Linked DNA regions of Homo sapiens: regions 1, 3 and 4 are each linked to region 2. Evidence: promoter capture Hi-C in 16 types of primary human blood cells and fetal thymus (Javierre and others, 2016). All regions are on one chromosome and are shown on one strand. The core of a region is centred on a gene start or on the middle of the fragment in contact, and the rest is flanking DNA. Distances in the headings are between cores, read along the strand shown.

The links. Contacts are between HindIII fragments. The CHiCAGO score rates a contact against its expected background, and 5 or more counts as called.
Region 1: a contact is called between a fragment that was not itself captured here and the fragment with the promoter of GPR82 in region 2, in 2 of 17 cell types (neutrophils and M2 macrophages). The highest score is 5.7, in neutrophils.
Region 3: a fragment that was not itself captured here is called in contact with the fragment with the promoter of GPR82 in region 2 in 1 of 17 cell types (M2 macrophages); the score reaches 6.3 in M2 macrophages.
Region 4: a fragment that was not itself captured here is called in contact with the fragment with the promoter of GPR82 in region 2 in 1 of 17 cell types (M2 macrophages); the score reaches 6.5 in M2 macrophages.

What each region holds. Positions count from the first base shown.
Region 1 is chrX:41,528,014-41,530,902 of GRCh38, forward strand. The region is part of intron 25 of CASK (calcium/calmodulin dependent serine protein kinase); the gene reads right to left. Among named protein-coding and RNA genes, the nearest start is that of CASK-AS1, 12 kb to the left of the region's middle. The HindIII fragment of the contact is 7,338 bases long and covers 1-2,889 here.
Region 2 is chrX:41,722,527-41,725,704 of GRCh38, forward strand. GPR82 (G protein-coupled receptor 82) reads left to right here and starts at 1,655. Exons shown (of 3, transcript NM_080817.5): 1 at 1,655-1,763. The region is part of intron 5 of CASK (calcium/calmodulin dependent serine protein kinase); the gene reads right to left. The HindIII fragment of the contact is 20,979 bases long and covers 1-3,178 here.
Region 3 is chrX:41,573,642-41,576,562 of GRCh38, forward strand. The region is part of intron 15 of CASK (calcium/calmodulin dependent serine protein kinase); the gene reads right to left. Among named protein-coding and RNA genes, the nearest start is that of CASK-AS1, 57 kb to the left of the region's middle. The HindIII fragment of the contact is 672 bases long and covers 1,181-1,852 here.
Region 4 is chrX:41,491,379-41,494,250 of GRCh38, forward strand. No RefSeq gene overlaps it. Among named protein-coding and RNA genes, the nearest start is that of CASK-AS1, 25 kb to the right of the region's middle. The HindIII fragment of the contact is 2,098 bases long and covers 337-2,434 here.

The sequences.
Region 1 (2,889 bases), core at 390-2,889, 190 kb before region 2:
GATTCCCAGGGTTACCTCTTCTAGGGTGGTACAGTGAAAGGAAGTGGGGATTTACTGTAAAAGAATAAAAATTTAAAAATCAACACAGTTCAACTTCACACCTCACTTTCAATTGGCTGTAAAGCCTTAATCGAGTCACAATTATGTTAAGCCTTGGTTTCTCCATCTACAAAACTAGATACTGATCTCCAGCTCATAGGGTTACAAGGATTAGGTAAGGAGTCATAACGCCTGGCAAAATATACAGCACTATAAGAACATAATCTATTACTATTTTATGAGAAGCTAGGTTATTAATTTCTTTCTAGTTTAATGTCTTTACCATCATCCTCTAGCTTTAAAGTTGGACCACAACATCTTATCATATAGTATTATTAGACGTGCTCAATTGGGCCTCAGTTGTCTGAAATAAGATGGCATAAAGTATTAGACCTGTACTAAAAGAGCTGGACATGTGTTAGGTGGTTTTCCTATGGTCCACATGTAGTTTGGCAGAAGTGAGAGGATTCTAAAAAATGCCACAAGGCCCTTCTGTTATGGACAGTTTTGGATGTACAATGAGGAAGGAATTTCATCCTCACCATCTTGTCTTCTGAATTGTATTCTTAGCTCCTGACCCTGTGCTTGACATATAATAAGGGCTTAATACAAGTTTGTTGGATTAAATTGTCTGTAAGATACAGTAGAGGGGTCATCTAAGAAGCTGGAGTGGGAAAGGGGGATGGAGAAAAATGTCCTAAGGAGAGAGCCTCCCTGGAGCAGTGAGGCTCTGCCTGAAAGCAAGTTGTTCATGGTCACGGGTATCCTGAAGGCAGGATGAAGGCCTTGTCCAGCTGAGGAGAGACTGGGCTGAGGGCAGAGAAGCCCGAGAGTGAAGCCCAGTCGGTGCAGACTGCGGGCATTCTCAGCTGTACTGTGGTATGCAATGGTCATTGTGAGACCAGGACTGGCATGAGGCTGGCCTGCGCAGGAGGGCCTGGGACCAGTGTAGTCAACCAGACCAACAGGAGGAGCAGGACCTGGGCAATCCCTATCCCCAGGGCCGCTGGCCCAAAGAGACTCAGGCAGCCAGGATGCCTATGGCCGGCCCTCAGGGCTAGGTGGATCTGAGAGATCACAGTTCTGAGAGGCAGGGACCCAGGAAGCAGGAGAGAAGAGTGCAGGTGAGCTCATCCAGCACTCAGGGGAGCAGAGGAGAGTGCCCAGCCGGGGTGAGGAGGTGCTTTGGGGCCAAGTGCAATGGGTAAAAGTAACTGCTGTGGGTGTCCTGAGGAGGCTGAGAGAAGTGTCTCCCACTCAGCAGTGCAGAGCAATGCATGGCTGTGCAAGGGCAAGGAGAAAGGGAGAGCTGGACGCTATGGGTGGAGCAGCAGCAGCAGCGGCAGCAGCAGCAGTGGCGGTGGCGGCGGCAGCAGCGGAGGCAGGTAAGGCAGAAAGCCCTCGAAAGTGGACTTAGGTAATGCAGAGGGAGTCTGAGGAGCCCTGCAGCCAGCATACTGCTAGAGACATTACTACCAGCAGAAAACGACGTTCAGGTGAAGACCAGTGTGGAACCCAAGGAGAGGATGTCGAAGACCAGGACCAGGATTGAGACTTTGCCTCTAGCCACCCCTGGCCAGAAGATTTTTCCAATCCCTAGTAAGGAGGGATTAGTAGTTAAACAAAAATCAATCTGTGGTACACATCATATATTTAGTTCTATATAGGTCCAAGTTAATTGTTAAGTAAACGGCAGTGTTCACCCTACTGCTGCTTTCCTCCCTAGCCCCTTGAACAGATCCTTTTGTGGTTTCCAAAGTTCCAAGTTCAAGAACCCCATCAGGTGTTGTAAACGGAAATGGGTGAACCCACTGGCCACGAATTAGGATCCTGGAGCCCAGAAACTGAGCTGTCAGGTCCCAGGTCACACAGACTCTGGCTATATAGGTTCTGTCCTTGCTTTAGGGATGGTTAGGGGACCAAGTCTCATACAGTGGCCCTTGAACAGGGATTCGCCCTGCCTAAGATAGCCAGGTAAGCCTCCTGATGAAACACAGCCTGCTTGAGGGAAGCTGGTCTACTATTTCAGCAGGTAGCATACTGGTTCTATTTCTAAGGGTTAAAGGAGATTTGGTACAGATCAGTCCTAGAAATGGCAGACCCAGGAGTCACATGGCACCCACAAGCCTCTCCTATAACCCACCTTGATGTCTACAACTCCCAAATCCTTCCTACTATACTTTGCCTCCCATATCTACTTGGTTTGTACTCAGAGATGAAAAAACAGCTTGTCAGCATTTTTGATGTAAAGCCTTCAGCTTTCTCTTTTTCAAGTTTAATAATTCCTACTGCAAGACATATCTAGAAACCATTTCATCATCTCTGTGTCTGGCTCTCTTTTGAGTCCTCTTCCAAGTCTTTATCTCTCTCCTAGTTTTTGCTCAGGGTCAGGCATTGTGCTCAGGTAAGGAAATGGCAGAGGCTGAGAGCCACCATGGGTTTCCATCCCTGCTGTCTCTGACATCTGGGCTCACTCATGCTTGCTTTCATAAAGCTAGTGCTGTGTTTCAGACCCAGGCCCCAGGATCAGTTTCTCACTGGAGATTAACATAATGTGCTGGTAGAGGCTCTGATGGTCCAGCGTGAGCTGTACCCAGAGAGGGAAGGTGGCTGTTGTGATAACAAAGTGCCAGAGCCTCATCCTGAGGTCAGATGATCGTAGGATTTCTGGCAGGCGTAGACACAATCAGGAACCTTACTGAGCTTCTGCATATAATAAACCTCTTAAGAGAATAATCTCTGCTTCTTAAATACATGGTGTGTGCACTGAGTCCAACGATTAGTCAGCTGGCATTCTAGACTGTGAACCCCCAACGCCTCCATTACTGATACTTTTCTGTGGTTTATGAA
Region 2 (3,178 bases), core at 405-2,904:
CATTTCACAGGGTGTTGTGAAAACCAAATAAGACTTGGATGTAAGGCACATAGCGAGATATCTGGCACATAGTAAGCTCTCATGAAATGTGGCTAATGAATGATGGTAGTGATAGTAGAAGCTGTAGTACCAGCAATTGATTAGATGTGAGATGTGAAAGAAAGAGGAATTAAGGATGATTCGTAAGTTTTTGGCTTGAATAACTGAAGGAGTGATGGTATCATTTACTGAGTTTGGAGACAATGGAGGAAAACAAGAGCGTTCTTTTTTCGGACCAAAGACGCTTATGCCTGAACAGATAATATTACAACTATCTTTCAATCACTTAGAAATAGCATTCCATTTCTGTTCTTCTCTAAATTAATTAAAACTGTTTTTTGTTCTATGTAATTCCTTCCTGGAACATGATACATTACTGAAGTAAAAGTGATGGGAATTCTAAAAGCCAAACTACTCTGTAATGAACGGCCATGTAACCCTGGATGAGTCACTGTTCTTAAGTAAATGGTGGCAAGGCAAAGATGAACAGCAGCAGAACACAATCTGGACACTTTAGGCAGTTCTCACTTTTGTTTTGGAGAGAAATATTAGCAAACATCATAGAGAATTTATGAAATAAACATGAAATAAGGTAAGCATTGCGGGTTTATGAGAAATGGCAAGGTACTTCTGTAAATTTTAAGTGAAGATTTACTGATAACTAAAATGCTCAGGTTTGATGAAATTAGATTTCTGTTCTCTTTTTCAGACTCCCACTGGTTTAACTACTCAAGGATGAGAGGGAGTGCTTGATGCAAGTCTTCCTCCCCAGATGTACACACTTAGCTTTCATTTAGTTAGTAGGTCACAGACTGATTCGACAATCCTGAACAAAAAAATTGGTTTCACAATTCTATTTTTTATTTTTAAAATTTTTATTGTTTTAGACTAGTCATGGTTTCACAATTCTTTATAACTATTCATTTGATCTGAGGCATACTTGGCACTTCCCAGGATTTGCCAAATCCATTATGAAATGCCCCAAACAGTGTATTATGTTGACAAATGGAGATAGTGCAGGGCAATTAGAAACAGAGTGGGTTAACTCATTAGTAACCAAACTGGGACCCAACCCTGGGTGCAGTCTGTGCTTACAGTGAGTTCCTCTGGGCCTCAGCTTCTTCAACTTTAAAACAAAGGGTCTCAGTCCACAGATGATCATGAAGTTCTATTTTAGCTCTATAATATTTGATTCTAGTAAGTTATAAGAAAACTTTGAGTTTTGTTTCTATTTTTGATAAAGATGGATTGCAAATAAGCCATCCACAAACAATTTTACAAACGAGTTTGCACCAATATTTGTATTGGGTTACTACAGAGTGGCTCCTTCTATCACTGTGTCATATAAAACTGGCCATGGGGGATTAAACCTGTGAACTTAACTTCAGTCAATCGTGCAAACAAAGGTTACTGGAGTGTAACTAGTTCATGAAATAATCATAAGGAAGTATAATATGTATATTGTTCACCACTTCCTCCCACTACAGAAATAGAGAAATGAGGGTTTTTTGAGGAGGCAGTTGCCACATTGACCATAACTATTGAATTTCTTCAATATTCTGTTTAATTTCCCCTTTTCCTCCCACTGTAGTTGGTGTCATGCAAGAATCTATTCACACTGACTAAAGATATTGGAAGAGTGAAGATCAGAGAATTTTAAGTCTGAAATTTGGCATCACTGCCCTGAACAATATAACCTTAGTTGGCATAAACTACTCATACAGGTAAGAGTGATTATTATTCATTTTTAGCTTAAAAATTAAACTCTATAAAAATAAACAGGACCTAATGGTTTAAATTTTGAAAGCTGATCATTAAGAAAGGCAGTCAGCATATTAACTATGTAGACAGTCATTAGTAACTGAAGTTAAGAGTTGTAGAACTTTTTTCATTTGTCAAATTAGCAGAGACAAAATGTATGCATGAGTGACTTGAGATAGACATTCTCCTGAGGGGAATATAGACTTAGAGACATTTTCTGGAGACCAGTTTTGCATCTGTAACATGTAATTTTTATTTGATTTCTTAATAGTACTTTCCAAATTCTGGAAAATAGTTATCTAGTAGTTTTATGATCCAAGTTTATTTTTGAAGGAGATGTACATAGTAGATACAAGTTTGGGAAGGTAAAGATGGTGACCTAGTTGTTGACTGCTACACTGAGAGTCCTACAGAGACTCAACTTCTGTCTGATAAAGCTAGCCTCTGCAGAAGTCTATGTCCCTTTTGTTTGGAAGCATTTAATATTCATACAGAAGCACCATTACCTTTGCAGTTTTTAGTATACTATGCATTATCTGCACAAGGTAGGAGCTACTGCTTTTCTTTAACAGCATCATAAAAGGAAGCTCCAATCCTTATGTAAAATCAAAACCTACTGTGAGCAGATAATTTTTTCTTAAATAAACTGGCTCATTTCACTGTCTGACTGATTTTTGAACTGGTGAAGTTACAGATTAGGTTTTATATATTTATACCAGGGTCTACACTAACTGAAACCAGATTATAATTCATCAGGTTGCACTAGATTCAGATACAAACTTACAATGAAGCATATGGACTGTTTTCTAAATAAAAATAGCAAAGAAATAAAATTATAAAGACAGTGGTAAACATTAATTAAGAATCTTGTTATTTAAACCCACAGACACTGCACAGTCCTCAAGTTTTCAAGACTTTGGGTGTGGATTGGTTTAAAAAGTTATTATAAAATTATAATATCATATTTGAAAAAAAACCCCAATTTCTGTAATCCAAGATGCAGAAAATAAATCAAACCATAATTCTGAAGGGGGTAGAGAGTAAAATTGCCCTGAGGGGCTGGGGGGATATAAGAATTTCAAAGGGTTGTGTATGGTACAGTTTTTATGTTTATCAAAAGAGAACATGATTAAAAAGAAGATTGAGAAACCTTGCTCTAGATCATGAAAGAGTGGAGAATGTGGTGCTCAGAAGGCTATGGTGAAGAACACAGAGAATATGGCACATTCTGAATAGAGATCATGGTTCTTATTTGACCAGAATCCAGTAACTTTTGTTATTCTCACCTGAAAGAAGTGAGGAAATAAGGAGAAAAATAAGAATAAAAGCAGTTTGTATATGATTCTTCAGCACTTCATGTGTACCCTTTGAAGCGAGA
Region 3 (2,921 bases), core at 267-2,766, 150 kb before region 2:
GTTCTATGTCATTTTTGATTGATTATTCTCCATATTATAGGTCACACTTTCTGGTCTTTTTACATGCCTAGTAATCTTTGATTAGATGTCAGACATTGTGAATTTGTTGCATAGTTGATGTTTTTGTATTCCTAAAAATATTCTTATGTTTTGTTCTGAGACTTAGATCAGTTACTCGGACATAGTTTGATCCTTTGGGTCTTGCGTTCATGATCCATTAGGCAGGTCTGGAGCAGTTGTCAGTTTGGGGCTAATTACTTCTCATTACAGAGATAAGACTTCCCTGAGCGCTCTACACAATGAGCCATGAATTAGAAATTTTTCTAGTCTGACTGGTGGGAACAGGTAGTGCAGGCGCTGTTCCTTCCAATCCTTTTGGATGGTTTTTTTTTCCATCCAAAGTGGAGAGTGTTGGGGAGTTTCTCAGTGTTGGGGAATTTCCTATTAGACATGCACTGATCGATACTCTGCTGAATACTTGAGGGAGATCCTCTGCAGATCTGAGGTTCTGTCTGTGTGCAGCTCTCTCCTCTTCAGTACTCTGTCCTATGAACTCTAGTTGCTTTGGTCACCCCAGACTCTCAGCTCTGTCCCCTCAATTTAGGGAGTCTGCCTACTCTGCCTTAGTTCCCCTCCCTGTGCTGTGGCCTGGAAACTCTCTCAAGGCAGCATGGTGGGGCATTCATATGGGTCACCTTGTTTCCTGTCTCACAAGAGATCACTGTCCTTAGTTGCCTGATGTCTAATGTCTTGAAAACTGTTCTTTCATGATATTTTGTTTTTTATATGTTGGGTTGTTTCAAATGAGAGGATAAATCTGGTCCCAGTTACTCTATCTTGGACAGAAATGAAAGTTCTATAGTCACATTTAATGCCAGAATACTATTCTACAGAGTGGATTACTTTTTGTTTTCTGATTATCCACTATTAAAAAAAACAAGCATTCATAAACATATTTTTTGCACTAGATCTGGTTAATCCTAAGAATCACACAGGGAAATTTTAAATAATGCTGACTCTTAAACCCACTCTTTAGATTTAAGCTCAGGAGGCCTCGAATGGAGCCCGGAAATCTGTACTTTTTAACAGGCTCCCTTGCTGGAAAGTGGCCTTGAATTTGAGACAGTTAAGGGTAGGGACTGTGTCTTTTATTTTTCACTAGAGAATAACACTGTCAGAAAGCTTGATAAAAATATCTGAGACTTTATACTCTAAACTTAATTTGTACCACTCCACAAACTATAACTTTGCATTGTTCCTATTTTGCAGTTTTCAGAAGTGGTAGGTGAGCAATGTGAAAAACTGGTTTATCAAAATGTTTCCAGTCCTAAGATTCAATTGTAATATTCAAGTTTCATTTCCAACTTGTACATTCAATCAGCTTGTATGGTTACTAAGAAAAGTGTTCCTGGAAAAATGCTGTAAATTAGTGTGTAAGTCAAATCTAATTTCATAAGGGAAATGATAGTACAATACAGCTTCCACCCTTGAAACTAATAGATGTATGTATTCATTCAACTAACATTAACGTGAATTTACTATGAGGCAGGCACTCTGCTAGGTACAGTAGCAAATGAGACAAAAAGGGTCTCCCATGGCCAGGAGAAGTTCACCTCAAACCAACTGTAGTTAACATTTATTATTCTGTAGGTCCCAAACATTTCTCTGTAGAGAGGAACTGATTCACTTTCTCTCTGTTCCCAAGTTCACAAATTCTAGGGAAGGCATTGGCATAGCTTGGGTTAGGTGCCTACTCCTGAACCTACCAGCTTGAGGGGAGATATTAGGAAAGTTATACTCCTGGCCTTTCCCTGTTTATATAAGCCTTTCCTCTATTTTGTAAGCTAGTTCAAGCTTGATTTTTGTCACTTGCAACTATGGGAATTCCAATCAATAAAAAAAAAAATTATGAGTATGATGCTACAAATGGGAAAACAGAGGTGTGTAACAGGAGTATGTCACCCTTGAGGAATGGACACATTGCAGAGGGTCTGAAAAACAAAACAGATCATATAGGAATATCCTGCACAGTAACATAATGCTTTGAATAAGACAACTAAGAAAGCAAATAAAGTTGTATTAAATGCATTAGAGATTGACACTCTATTATTGAAAATATATATTTTATATTTCACATAAAATAATTCCTGTTTTCATGGAAACCCATCAAAAGGAGAAGAAATATACATCTTCACTAGGATCATCGAAGACAGAAAAGCTTTTGGAAGGAGACTTTTAGGGGAGACTCAAGACCATTTTACGCTTTCTGAAAAAGTAACTCAGGGATGTAGTTTTATGCTTTTATTCAGTCTATGTTTCTTTTTTCTTTTCTTTTCTTTTCTTTTTTTTTTGAAACGGAGTCTCACTCTGCTGCCCAGGCTGGAGTGCAGTGGCGCGATCTCGGCTCACTGCAACCTCCGCCTCCCGGGTTCAAGCGATTCTTCTGCCTCAGCCTCCTGAGTAGCTAGGATTACAGGCACCCACCACCACACCTGGCTAATTTTTGTATTTTTAGTAGAGATGGGGTTTCACCATATTGGCCACGCTGGTCTCGAACTCCTGACCTCGTGATCCACCCGCCTCGTCCTCCCAAAGTGCTGGGATTACAGGTGTGAGCCACTGCACCGGGCCAATTCAGTCTATGTTTCTATGTAGTGAGTCTTCACACAAACAATCAAGCAGCTGTCACTGGACTGCTTGAGAACTTAATGATCCCAAGACACTCTGAGGCCTCCTTCTTGTGGTCCCTTCTACCTTCTTGCCTGCTTTGCCTGGCTGAACATCACACCTTCCTGCCTCTCCAACACAGCTTTCTCTCCTCTCCAGCTCTGTCATAACTGGGCTTGTTAAGTAAACCGTGCTAAGCTACAAATTTACTTGTTTAATGTAGCCAGCCCTGTGGAACGTGAGCTCTAGTAAGG
Region 4 (2,872 bases), core at 136-2,635, 230 kb before region 2:
AACATTGTGAATCATATCGTCAGAAGCTCCTCCCAGGGATGTAAAACTTTTCTCCCTCAAGCTGAGCGGTGGCATTGCGGGTTTGCCTGGCATGTTTTTGACCTTGTAAAACAGCATCCTGTGATTAGGAGCTGGTCTCTAGATGAACGAACCCAATACAGCACTTTAGTAATTTCAGGTGATGGCTGACAAGGAATGGCGTGTGCTTTCTGGTTTCTCTGGCACATAGCTGACATCACAGGGCTTACTCCTTGTGATTTAGGCGGCAGCTGCAGGAACAGCCTTCTGGAAAGATAAAACCAGCATCATTTGTCTCACCTCTCCTCGGAGTGCTGAAGCTTCCTTTTCCTCATTAGGAACATTCCTTTTACCTCAAAGAGCTATTGTGAAGAATGAAAAGCAGAAATAGCTGGGAAGCACTTCACGCCAGCCAAGGAAATGTGAGTCACCGCTTGAGTCTCAAGTAGGATTGGGCTCAGCTGTGAGTAACATAAACCCTGAAATACCAGTGGCTTAAACGAGGTAGAAGTTTATTCCTTTTTCGTAATAAAGTGCAGGAGTGTGACAACATGGATGATCGTGGAGAACATTATGCAAGTGAAATTAACTAGTCATAGAAGGACAAACACTGCATGATCTCACTTACATGTGGAATCTAAAAGAGACAAACTGGAAGAGTGGAGTGGAGTGGTGGTTACCAGGGGCTGGGCAGGAGGGGTTGGGGAGATGTTGGTCCAAGGGTACAAATTTTGTACCTCAAGAGATCTATTACTAAAATGGTGACTGCCGGTCGCGGTGGCTCACACCTGTATTCCCAGCACTTTGGGAGGCCGAGGCGGGTGGATCACCTAAGGTCAGGAGTTCAAGACCAGCCTGACAAACATGGAGAAACCCCGTCTCTACTAAAAATACAAAAAAATTAGCCCTGCATGGTGGCGCATGCCTGTAATCCCAGCTACTGTGGAGGCTGAGGCAGGAGAATCGCTTGAACCCGGGAGGCAGAGGTTGCGGTGAGCTGAGATTGTGCCATTGTACTCCAGCCTGGGCAACAAGAAGGAGACTCTGTCTGGAGAAACAAAAACAAAAACAAAATAACAATGTATTGTATACTTGAAAATTGCTAAGAGAGTAGATTTTTTTCTTATTTATTTATTTATTTATTTATTTATTTATTTTTTTGAGACAGTCTCACTCTGTCATCAAGCCTGGAGTGCAGTGGCACAATCTCAGTTCACTACAACCTCTGCCTTATGCCTCAGCCTCCTGAGTAGCTGGGACTACAGGCATGCGCCACCACGCCTGGCTAATTTCTGTAGTTTTGGTAGAGACGAGGTTTCACCATGTTGGCCAGGTTGGTCTCGAACTCCTGGCCTCAGACGATCCACCTGCCTTGGCCTCCCAAAGTGCTGGGATTACAGGCGTGAGTCACTATGCCCGGCCACCAACAGACTTTGATCATGGCGACAAAAACATGCACACTGTGCCTTTCATATCAAGCCAACTCTGGGTTGCAACTGGCCTGAAAGTAGGAACCCCCACCCTTGGGAGAACTCACCCTTAGCCCTGTCCCAGGCCCTTGGGAGGTTTGCCCCATCTTGGCATGACTGAAGGTAAGGGCAAGCACATGTCCTTGCTGCCCTTAGGGTTCTCATCTCCCTGCTCTGAGGGATTCCTCCTGTTTGCCTGGCGTTACCTGCCTGCTTTCAGCCTGGCGCTTGAACACTCCCCAGGTCCCCGAAGGGAAAACTGCTCTCACAGCCACTACTTCTTCCATTCCTATGGCCACCTGCAGTCCCATATGGGAGACATCGAGCAGTTTCTGAAAACATACAGGGGATGGGAGTTGGGATTCCTTCTCTCTAGAACCTGGTGGTTCAACATCTATATCAAGCATCCACATATGACAAATCAAATGACCTTGAACAAAACTACTTAGCCCGGGCATGATGGCTCATGCTTGTAATCCCAGCACTTTGGGAGGCTGAGATGGGTGGATCACTTGAGCCCAGGAGTTCGAGACCAGCCTGGACAACATAGGGAGACCTTGTCTCTACAAAAAAATACAAAAATTAGCCAGGTGTAGTGGTGCACGCCTGTGGTTTCAGCTACTTGGGAGGCTGAGGTGGGAGGATCACTTGAGCCTGGCAGGTGGAGGTTGCAGTGAGCCGTGATTGGTGATTGCACCACTGCACTCTAGCCTGGCGACAGAGGGAGACCCTGTCTCATAAAAAAAAAAAAAAAAAAGACACAAGGGCTTAATATGGAGATGTAGCGCAGGGCAGTGAAGGTGGGATGGGCCTGTGCGAAGAGGCATCAGAGAAGACTTCACAGAGGAAACGTTGCTTGAACTGTGGTCTGAGGTGAGCAGGGTCCCTGGCTGGACAAGGAGGAAGGGCATTCCCAGCTGAGGGGACAGCGTGAGCAAAGCCAGAGAAGCTTGGAAGAATCTGACCCAGGGCAGCCAATGGCAAGATGGCTGGGGCCATGGGTGCGTGGTGGGAGATGATGGGAAATGAAGCTGGAGTGGAGGCAGAAGAAGATTGGAAACATGTCTCCCGCACTCACTATGACCCTGGCACTGTGCTAAATACTTTATAGATACTGTCTGGTTGAAATTTCATAGTGACACTATGAGGGAGGTATTATTATTATTCCCATTTTACAGATGAGTGCATTGAGACTCAGAGAGGTTAGGCATATTGATGAAGATTGCATAACAAGGACTCAGTAGGGCTGGGACTTGAACTAAGTCTGTTGGACACCAGGGCCTAGTCTCTTAAACAGTTAACACTTTTTCCTGCTGGCATTAGAGGGCTTTCGGAAGCTAGCTAGCTTTCTTTCTTTTGGTCTTTCCTTCTTTTCTTCCTGTTTT